Regions from separate parts of the Homo sapiens genome. Here region 2 is linked to region 1. The links are contacts of gene promoters, found by promoter capture Hi-C in human tissues and cell types (Jung and others, 2019). All regions are on one chromosome and are shown on one strand. Each heading gives the region's core, a stretch centred on a gene start or on the middle of the fragment in contact. The rest is flanking DNA. Distances are from core to core; before and after follow the strand shown.

What was found. The method cuts DNA at HindIII sites, captures the fragments that hold promoters and counts their contacts. A contact is called where the count stands out against the background at its distance.
Region 2: a fragment that was not itself captured here is called in contact with the fragment with the promoter of C17orf107 in region 1 in 3 of the 25 tissues and cell types used here (dorsolateral prefrontal cortex, lymphoblastoid cells and spleen).

What each region holds. Positions count from the first base shown.
Region 1 is chr17:4,898,286-4,900,785 of GRCh38, reverse strand. C17orf107 (chromosome 17 open reading frame 107) reads right to left here and starts at 1,250. Exons shown (of 3, transcript NM_001145536.2): 1 at 958-1,250; 2 at 641-850; 3 at 1-549. The coding sequence starts at 1,023. The coding sequence ends at 253. It overlaps CHRNE (cholinergic receptor nicotinic epsilon subunit), which reads left to right. Exons shown (of 12, transcript NM_000080.4): 9 at 1,204-1,318; 10 at 1,402-1,588; 11 at 1,679-1,785; 12 at 1,895-2,500. The coding sequence ends at 2,050. RefSeq lists an enhancer at 864-1,173 and silencers at 1,374-1,483, 1,504-1,653. The HindIII fragment of the contact is 33,281 bases long and covers 1-2,500 here.
Region 2 is chr17:4,226,996-4,232,986 of GRCh38, reverse strand. All of the region lies in intron 3 of ANKFY1 (ankyrin repeat and FYVE domain containing 1), which reads left to right. Among named protein-coding and RNA genes, the nearest start is that of ANKFY1, 34 kb to the left of the region's middle. The HindIII fragment of the contact is 6,569 bases long and covers 1-5,991 here.

The DNA.
Region 1 (2,500 bases), core at 1-2,500:
CGGAGCCCCCGCGGGGGTGTGGCCAGTGTGAAGGGTGGGGGCGTGGCCAAAACCCAGAGACCCCGGGAAAAGCTCTGGCTGTCTCGCCCCGCCCTGGGCTTTATTCGGACGCTGGGTGGGGCTGGTACGGGGATGGAGTCCCTGGTCCGCCGTCCTCCTCACTGCTGCTGGACGTCACCTGGAGGTCTCCCGAGTAGCTCTCTTGGGGGACAGTCCGGCTCAGTGCCTCCCTAGCCCCGCCGCCTCTGGCCCCTAACTCACCCCGTGTCCTGAGCTCACCGGTTCTCCGGGGATTCCGAGGCCTAGCTGCTGTTGCGACTGTCGCAGGAATGAGGCAGACCCCTGCAGACCCCGTCCACACAGGCATAGCCATGCTCCCTGGACTAGGAGCCGGGCGCTGGCGCCCACCGCAGCCCCAGCTTGCCGAACCCCCTGCCCTGCGGCTTGGGCTACCCGGCTCAGCGCTGCACCCGGATCCCTGCCGTCTGGGGCTGGGCCCGCGCTGCCGTCTAGTCGCCGCGCCTCCTGCTGCAGCCACAGGGCTGAGATCTGCATTGGGGGCACAGGGGTTAGCGGGGAGGCAGAGGTCCTTGTTCCCGCTACCCGATCGCCGCGTATCCTAAGCCCCCCAGTACCCCACCTCTAACAAGGTGGTGCCGAAGCTCACGAGGCTGGCTGTGGCTTCTCTCAACACCAGCCCCAGGGTGGGCTTCGGGGCAGGCAGCATCCCCTGCATCTTCGGTTCGGGTGGCTCCAGGGACTTCAGCTCTCTGAACCTCTGCTCCAGATATTCATGGGCTGCGGCCACGGAGAGTTCCAGGGAAGACAGAAGCGGGGGCTGGAGGGCCACCTGGAGAAGGAGCAGAGCAGTAGAGTAGCAGGGCAGGGGTCACAGGGGCGAACAGGAGACCTACCCAGAAGGTCTCGAGGTGCAGCCCTTGGCGGGCGTAGCCTCACCTCGGTGGAGCTGTGGAAGTGGTAGATCCACATCAGGGTGTCCAGGGAGCTGGGGGTCCCCTTCATGGCCGCCACAAGTGGTAGGACAGGAGAAGGGCTGGGGGACGCGTCTGTCGTCGTGTAGGGGGCGCAGCTGGAGGGCGTAACCAGCCCGTACCAGGAGAAGCCGTGTTTGTGAGGTCAGCGCGCGGCGCCTTCGGTAGCTGGGAGGAGGAACGGTGATGTCATGCCTTCCGGGCTCCTCAGGTTCCTTATTTTCGTCATGGTGGTCGCCACGCTCATTGTCATGAATTGCGTCATCGTGCTCAACGTGTCCCAGCGGACGCCCACCACCCACGCCATGTCCCCGCGGCTGCGCCACGTAAGCGCGGAGGGGGCGGTGCAGCCCGGGTCGGGGTGGGGCTTCGTACTAACCTCGTCCCCTAAGCCCCGCCCCTGCCCCAGGTTCTCCTGGAGCTGCTGCCGCGCCTCCTGGGCTCCCCGCCGCCGCCCGAGGCCCCCCGGGCCGCCTCGCCCCCAAGGCGGGCGTCGTCGGTGGGCTTATTGCTCCGCGCGGAGGAGCTGATACTGAAAAAGCCACGGAGCGAGCTCGTGTTTGAGGGGCAGAGGCACCGGCAGGGGACCTGGACGGGTGAGCACAGTGGCCCTGGCCCGGGGGGCCGCGCGGGGTGCCTGCCAGGGGGGAGGCTCCTAAGGCCCACCCCGGTGTTTTCCCCGCCAGCTGCCTTCTGCCAGAGCCTGGGCGCCGCCGCCCCCGAGGTCCGCTGCTGTGTGGATGCCGTGAACTTCGTGGCCGAGAGCACGAGAGATCAGGAGGCCACCGGCGAGGTGGGACAGGAGCCAGAGGCGGGTGGAGCGAGGCAGAGGCCCACCACTGTCTCCCATGCCGCTGGCTCCTGCAGCTGCCTCTTTACTGACTGTGCCGACCCTTCCCCAGGAAGTGTCCGACTGGGTGCGCATGGGGAATGCCCTTGACAACATCTGCTTCTGGGCCGCTCTGGTGCTCTTCAGCGTGGGCTCCAGCCTCATCTTCCTCGGGGCCTACTTCAACCGAGTGCCTGATCTCCCCTACGCGCCGTGTATCCAGCCTTAGCTCGCACCGACTTCAATTTCCCACCCATCTCCAGTAGGAAATTGATTTTGAAAAAGTAGGCTGCCGCCACCACGGCATTATGATCCCTTCCCCCTGCTGATCAATCTGCAGTTTGTGAACTTCACAAGAATGGTGTGTGCCCGTTCCCTGGCGTGTGTAGGCCTGGCCGCAGTCCAGGGGTCAGCAGGAGGAAAGGGTTCACATAGGCTCTCAGGTGCCAGTCTTCCAGAAAGCAAGGACTGCCCTTCATTCAGCCTTGCTGACCTCCCAGCCTTTCTAAGGCTCAGCCCCACGGGACTCTGGTGGCTGCCAGCTTGTGAGCTATCTATCTATATTCATTTCATAGCCAAACAGGAGACCCCTTTGCAGGACTTGCACACAGGGAGGCTGTAGCCAGGAAACCCTCTTCTTCCCTGGTCTGGCTCTGCTGGAGCGGGTGGGAACCAAACA
Region 2 (5,991 bases), core at 1,681-4,180, 670 kb after region 1:
GGGATACTGTCGTAGGTCACTCAGACAGTGTTAATGTTCCTCAGTTTTATTTTAATTGTGAAATATCGACTGCCACCAAAATGAATGAGAGTGGCAAAAACGAAACATCGCTGCTCTCTGAAACAAAACGACACAACACAGAAAATTACATCAAGGAATAAAAAGCCAATTTTAACATTGAATTAAAAAATTTTGCTTTACACTGAAATTTTTTAGTACATCCAAACGTTTAGAGCTTTAATTCAGTGCTGTCTGGCCTTAATTCAGTGCTGTCTGGCCACAAGATTGCATCACTGTGAGTCAGGAAGTTTTCTCGAGTTCAGGAAAATAGAATATTAATGTCTTTAAATGTCTCTAGACTCTCCTCCAGTTGTAAATAATAAGCGTGTTTTGATTCTACTATAAGGTTTGCTTTCAGGAGTGATCCGCTTCAAAGTAAATGGTTTTTGTGGCTTTCACAGATCAAGCACCTGTGAAGATAGCAGATAGGAGAACATGTGGCATTTTTACTTTTTATGACATTTTAATGAAATGTATCTTTGAAATGTGTTATGGGGGAGAGGTCCAAGGTGGTAGTGGCATGTGTGGGCCTGTTCCTGTTGAATTGTGTGCTTTGCCCAGCAGTCCTGCTCATTGCCTAAACCTGGGCTTGCAGTTGCTGAGACTGCCTGGGAAGCCTGTGTGTTATGTGATACCTGGAAGCACTGACACTTCATGGCAGCAATTTGAGGAAGATTGGAAATAGGTTCTTGTAAACAGGTGTATAAATAGCATAAAAGCTGTATTTTAAAGGCTCAAATGTTTTCCACACCAACAGGCTTGATAAAATCATTTAATGAATTTATTGGTGTTTTGTTTTTTCAACATTAATCCATTCATATAAAAAACATTGAGTGGTAAGCGCTTTTCAAGGTGTTAGGGATACAAAGTGTACAAAATTAAATTCTTGCTTGCATAAACTTACATCTTAGAATGTAAGAAAAACTCCACATTTTTCTTTTTGATGTTCTTGTCTAATTGATATTTCTTTCTTTCTTTTTTTTTTTTTTTTAAACAGGATTTCACTCTGTCACCCAGGCTAGAGTGCCATGGTGCAATCACGGCTCACTGCAGCCTTGACCTCCTGGCCTCAGGTGATCCTCCCACCTCAGCCTCCTGAGTATCTGGGACCACAGGTGTGTGCTACCATGCCTGTCTCATTTTTTATAGACATGAGATTTTGCCATGTTGCCCAGGCTGGTCTTGAACTCCTGGACTCAAGGAATCCTCCTGCCTTGGTCTCCCAAAGGCCTGTTGGGATTACAGGTGTGAGGCACTGCACACAGCCTTGATTATGAGAATTTTAGCATATGTTGATGAAATACAACAGGCATTATATACACTTTAAAGGTGTTTGGATATATGAATCATACCTTGTTCAAAAAAGTGAAATGTTTGTACCTGATATGATCCACTGATGAAGGCACAATCACTTCTGTAGGATTCTTTTTTTGTTTTTGAGATAGGGTCTCACTGTGTCGCCCAGGCTGGAATGCAGTGACACTATCGCGGCTCACTGAAGCCTTGAACTCCTGGGCTCAAGAGATCCTCCCACCTCAGCCTCTCAAGTAGCTGGGAGTACAGGTGTTCACCACCATCCCTGGCTAATTGTTTAATAGAGATGGGCTCTTGCTGTGTTGCCAAGGCTGGTCTCAAACTCCTGGGCTCAGATGATCCTCCTGCCTTGGCTACCCAAAGTGTTGGAATTTCAGGCATGAGCCACTCTGCCTGGCTCTTGTATAGGATTTTTGCCATTAATGCATAACCTCAATCTACTCATGAGAAAACATCAGACCCAAATTGAGGGACATTTCTCAAAATAATCAGCCAGAGTGTTTCTCAAACATGTCAAGGTTATGAAAAACAAGAATGGTTTAGGAAGTATTACAGATTGGGTGAGACTAACACTGAATGCAGTGTAGAATCCTCAGTTGGATTCTGGCCATAAAAAGGGTATTACTGGTAAAATTGGCAAAATAGGGCCTATAATTAGTTAATGGTATTGGTATTGTATGTATTACGTAGTTACCTAATTTTGATCATTGTACTATGGTTATATAAGCTGTATTAATAATAGGGGAAGATGAGTAAAGGGCATATGGGGATGCTCTGCAGCTTTTCTCAAAGTATGAAAGTATCTGAAAATGTAAACAAAGTAGAAATTTGCTTTTTTATTTCTTACTAAGGTATCTTTAAATATATGAAGTGATATGTTAATTAGCTTATAACCATTTCATAGTGCATACATATATCAAAACATGTCATACATTAACTCTATATAATTTTTGTCTGTTAAACCCTAATAAAAAAGAATAAAAGATAAAAGTTTATAAAGATACTGATTGACCAAGTGGGAAGAGAAAGAATATGACTGTTAGCTCAGCAAAGCATAACAAATCTGAGTCCACAAGGAAAGTATTATATTTACTTCTTGGTGAAGTAAAGCAATTTGCTTCTAGCAAAATGATCTGTTTATGGCCTCTCTGTAGCACTTTACCAGTAGCAGCTGACACGATGAGAGGTTCCAATGGATTAGAATGGCTGTTTTGAAGCTAGAGTTTGTTGCATACTTTCTCAAGCAAAGATCTTACAGTTCCTTGGCATAAGGGCTCAGGGTATGAGTCATTCAGCTCTCCTGGAATGTGTCCTGGATAGTGTCAAGCCATTCCAAACAGCAGAAAACATCCTCCTTTATTCCTTTTCACTCTGGTTGGGAAAGCTATCCCCTGAAGCACCATCTGGAAAGCTTGCACTCTGCAGTGGAAAGGGCATAGTTTCCCAAACTGTGTACTCGGGGAGCTGTGTGCTATTTAAATTTTTAAGAGAAGCACAGCAATATTCAACATCTGTTGGCTACTGTGTGAACTACTAGGTTAAGGCTGTTCAGTTTCAGTATTAAATCATACTGTGTTCCTTCGATGACATCCACGGGAAGTTTAGAATATGCTCACAAAAAGGAGTAAAAAAGAATATGCTCACAAATTCTTTGCTATTTCTCCCTGCAAAGGTGGATTCAAATTCTCCTCTTCAGTATAGGCTGATTCACCTCTAATGAATGGAGTGTGGTAGAAGTGGCAGCATGTGACTTGAGAGATGGCTTCATCGAAGGCACTGTGGCTTCTTCCTAGCTCTCTCTTTTGGATTGCTCATTTTGGGGGAACGTTAGCGGCCATGTCATGAGGACACTCAAACAGCCTTGTGGCCTCCTGCCAGCAGCTGAGTCCCATGCCCAAAGATTCTCTCAGAGCTCAAAATAATCTATTTTATCTGCGGTTATATTCTTTACTTAATCCTCATACTGCTTTTGGGTTTTTCTCACCAATCTTTGGTTATGTTAAGTTTGTGTTTGTGTTGGCTTATTGCAGATTTGGTTTAGGTTCATTGTTCTTTTAATTTTTATTTATATTTAGCCAATTCAATAATTTCTTTTTATCTGTATTAAATCTTTCTTTGAAATTCCTTTGAATTATTTTTTCTTTTTGAGTTGAATTACTATCTTTTATCTCATTTTCTTTTTTTTTTTTGAGACAGAGCCTCACTCTGTCACCCAGGCTGGAGTGCAGTGGTGTGATCTCAGCTCACTGCAACCTCCACCTCCTGGGCTCAAGTGATTCTCCTGCTTCAGCCTCCTGAGTAGCTGGGATTACAGGTGCCCGCCACCACGCCTGGCTAATTTTTGTATTTTTAGTAGAGATGGGGTTTTGCCACGTTGGCCATGCCGGTCTTGAACTCCTGACCTCAGGTGATCCACCCACTGCGGCCCCCCAAAGTGCTGGGATCACAGGTGTGAGCCACCATGCCTGGCCTCATTTTCTAATAAGGTTAAGACTATGACTTTTTTTTATAGTATGAATCTGACTACATTGCAAATATTTTGGTAGGTACTGTTTTCATTGTGATCAATTTCTAAATAGTCTATTGTAATAATAGCAAGTTTTTACATAGCAGTTACTATGTGGTGGTGGTGTTTTGAGTGCTTTATTATGTATTAACTCCACACAGTTAGCAAGGATTGGAGCCGGGATTTGAACCCTAGGTAGTTTGGCTGCAGAATTCGTGCCATTAACCACAGTGCCGTGCTGCCTGTCAGTTTGGTTTCTTTTTCCTCCAAATTGAGGTGTAATGGAAGTACAGTAAACTGCCCACATTAAAAGTGTGCAATTGGATAAGTTTTGACATACGAATACACCTGTGAAGCCACTGCCACAATCAACATAAACATTTCTATCCTTGCTGGGTGTGGTGGCTCACGCCTGTAATTCCAGCACTTTGGGAGGCCAAGTTGGGTGGATCACTTGAGGTCAGGAGTTTGAGACCAGCCTAGCTAACATGGCGAAACCCCATCTCTACTAAAAATACAAAAAATTAGCCGAGCATGGTGGCACATGCCTATAATCTCAGCTACTTGGGAGGCTGAGGTAGGAGATTGCTTGAACCTGGGAGGCAGAGGTTGCAGTGAGCCGAGATCGCGTCATTGCACTCCCGTCTGGACGACAGAGTGAGACTCTGTCTCAAGAAAAAAAAAAAAAACTAACAAAAAACATTTCCATCCTTAAAGCTTTCCTCATGTCTCTTTGCAATCCATCCCTTTTGCCATCCACTTCTGCAGCTAAATGCTGATCTGCTTTCAGTCATTATAGATTAGTTTGCAGTTTCTAGGCTTTTATAGAAGTGCAATCATAGAGCATAGAGTCCCTTTTGTCTGGCTTCTTTCACTTCTTTTAGCATATAGATTTTGACATTCACCCCACACCTTAGTATGTTGCTTTGTGTTTTAATTATTCATTCCTTGTTATTGAATAGTATTCCATTGTATGAAAATACCACACTTTTTTTTTGCATTTACCTGTTGATGGACATTTGTGTTCTTTCTGGGTTTTATTAGCAAGAAAATTACCTGTATTCAGTTGTGTAAGGCCTTTGTGTAGACATGTTTTTATATCTCTTGAGTAAATATCTAGGAGGGACTGTTTAATGTTAAGAAACTACCAAACTGTCTTGCAAAATGGATGTACCATTTTACATTCCCATTAGCCGTGGATATGAGAGCTCCAGGTGCTTCACATCCTGACTAACGCTTGATATAGGCAGGTTGTTTTGGTTTTTGTTTACAATTTTAGCCATTCTAATGGATACAGAGTGCATGGCAGTTTTATTTTGCATTCCCCTGATAATAATGCTGAACCTTCTTTGTGTGTTATTGACAATTTTATATTTTCTTATAAAGTATTCACATCTTTGGCCTTTTCAAAATGTGGCATTGTATTGAGTTTTGAGTATTGAGTATTAACAGTTCTGTATATAATTTAGATACAAGTCATTTGTCTGAAAGCAAGCATCCTTTGTTCTTGATCTCAGGGAGAAACAATGAGATCTTTTATCATTTTGTATAGATTAGTTGTAGGTTTTTCTTGGATACGCTTTATCAATTTGAGTATTCCTGGTTTTCTAGATAAGTTACCTGAATTGGTTTTTGAATTTTGCCAAACACTTTCTTTGACATCTATAGAAATGATTATATAATTTTTGATGAATTACAGATGTTAAACTAAGATTGCATTCCTGCTGTAAAAACCTGTTTGGTCATTATATATTACCCTTTTTTATGTATGTTGTTGGATCCTATTTGCCAATATTTTGTTAAAAATTTTACAACAGTAATCATGAGGGATATTGGTATGTAATTTTTTTTAATGTCTCTATCAGATTTTACTATTAGGGTTATATAGGCCTTATATGATCCTTCATTGTCTGTTTTCTGAAAATGTTTTCTAAGATTGATGTTATTGCTTATTTCTTGAATGTTTGATAGAATTCACCACTGAAGTAATCTAAGTCCAGAATTTGCTTTTTGGGAAGCTTTTTGAAAACAAATTTTTAAAATATGTATTTTGTATAGATATAGGTCTATTCAGATTTGTTTCTTCTGTGTCAGGTTTGGGAAGTTTTGTT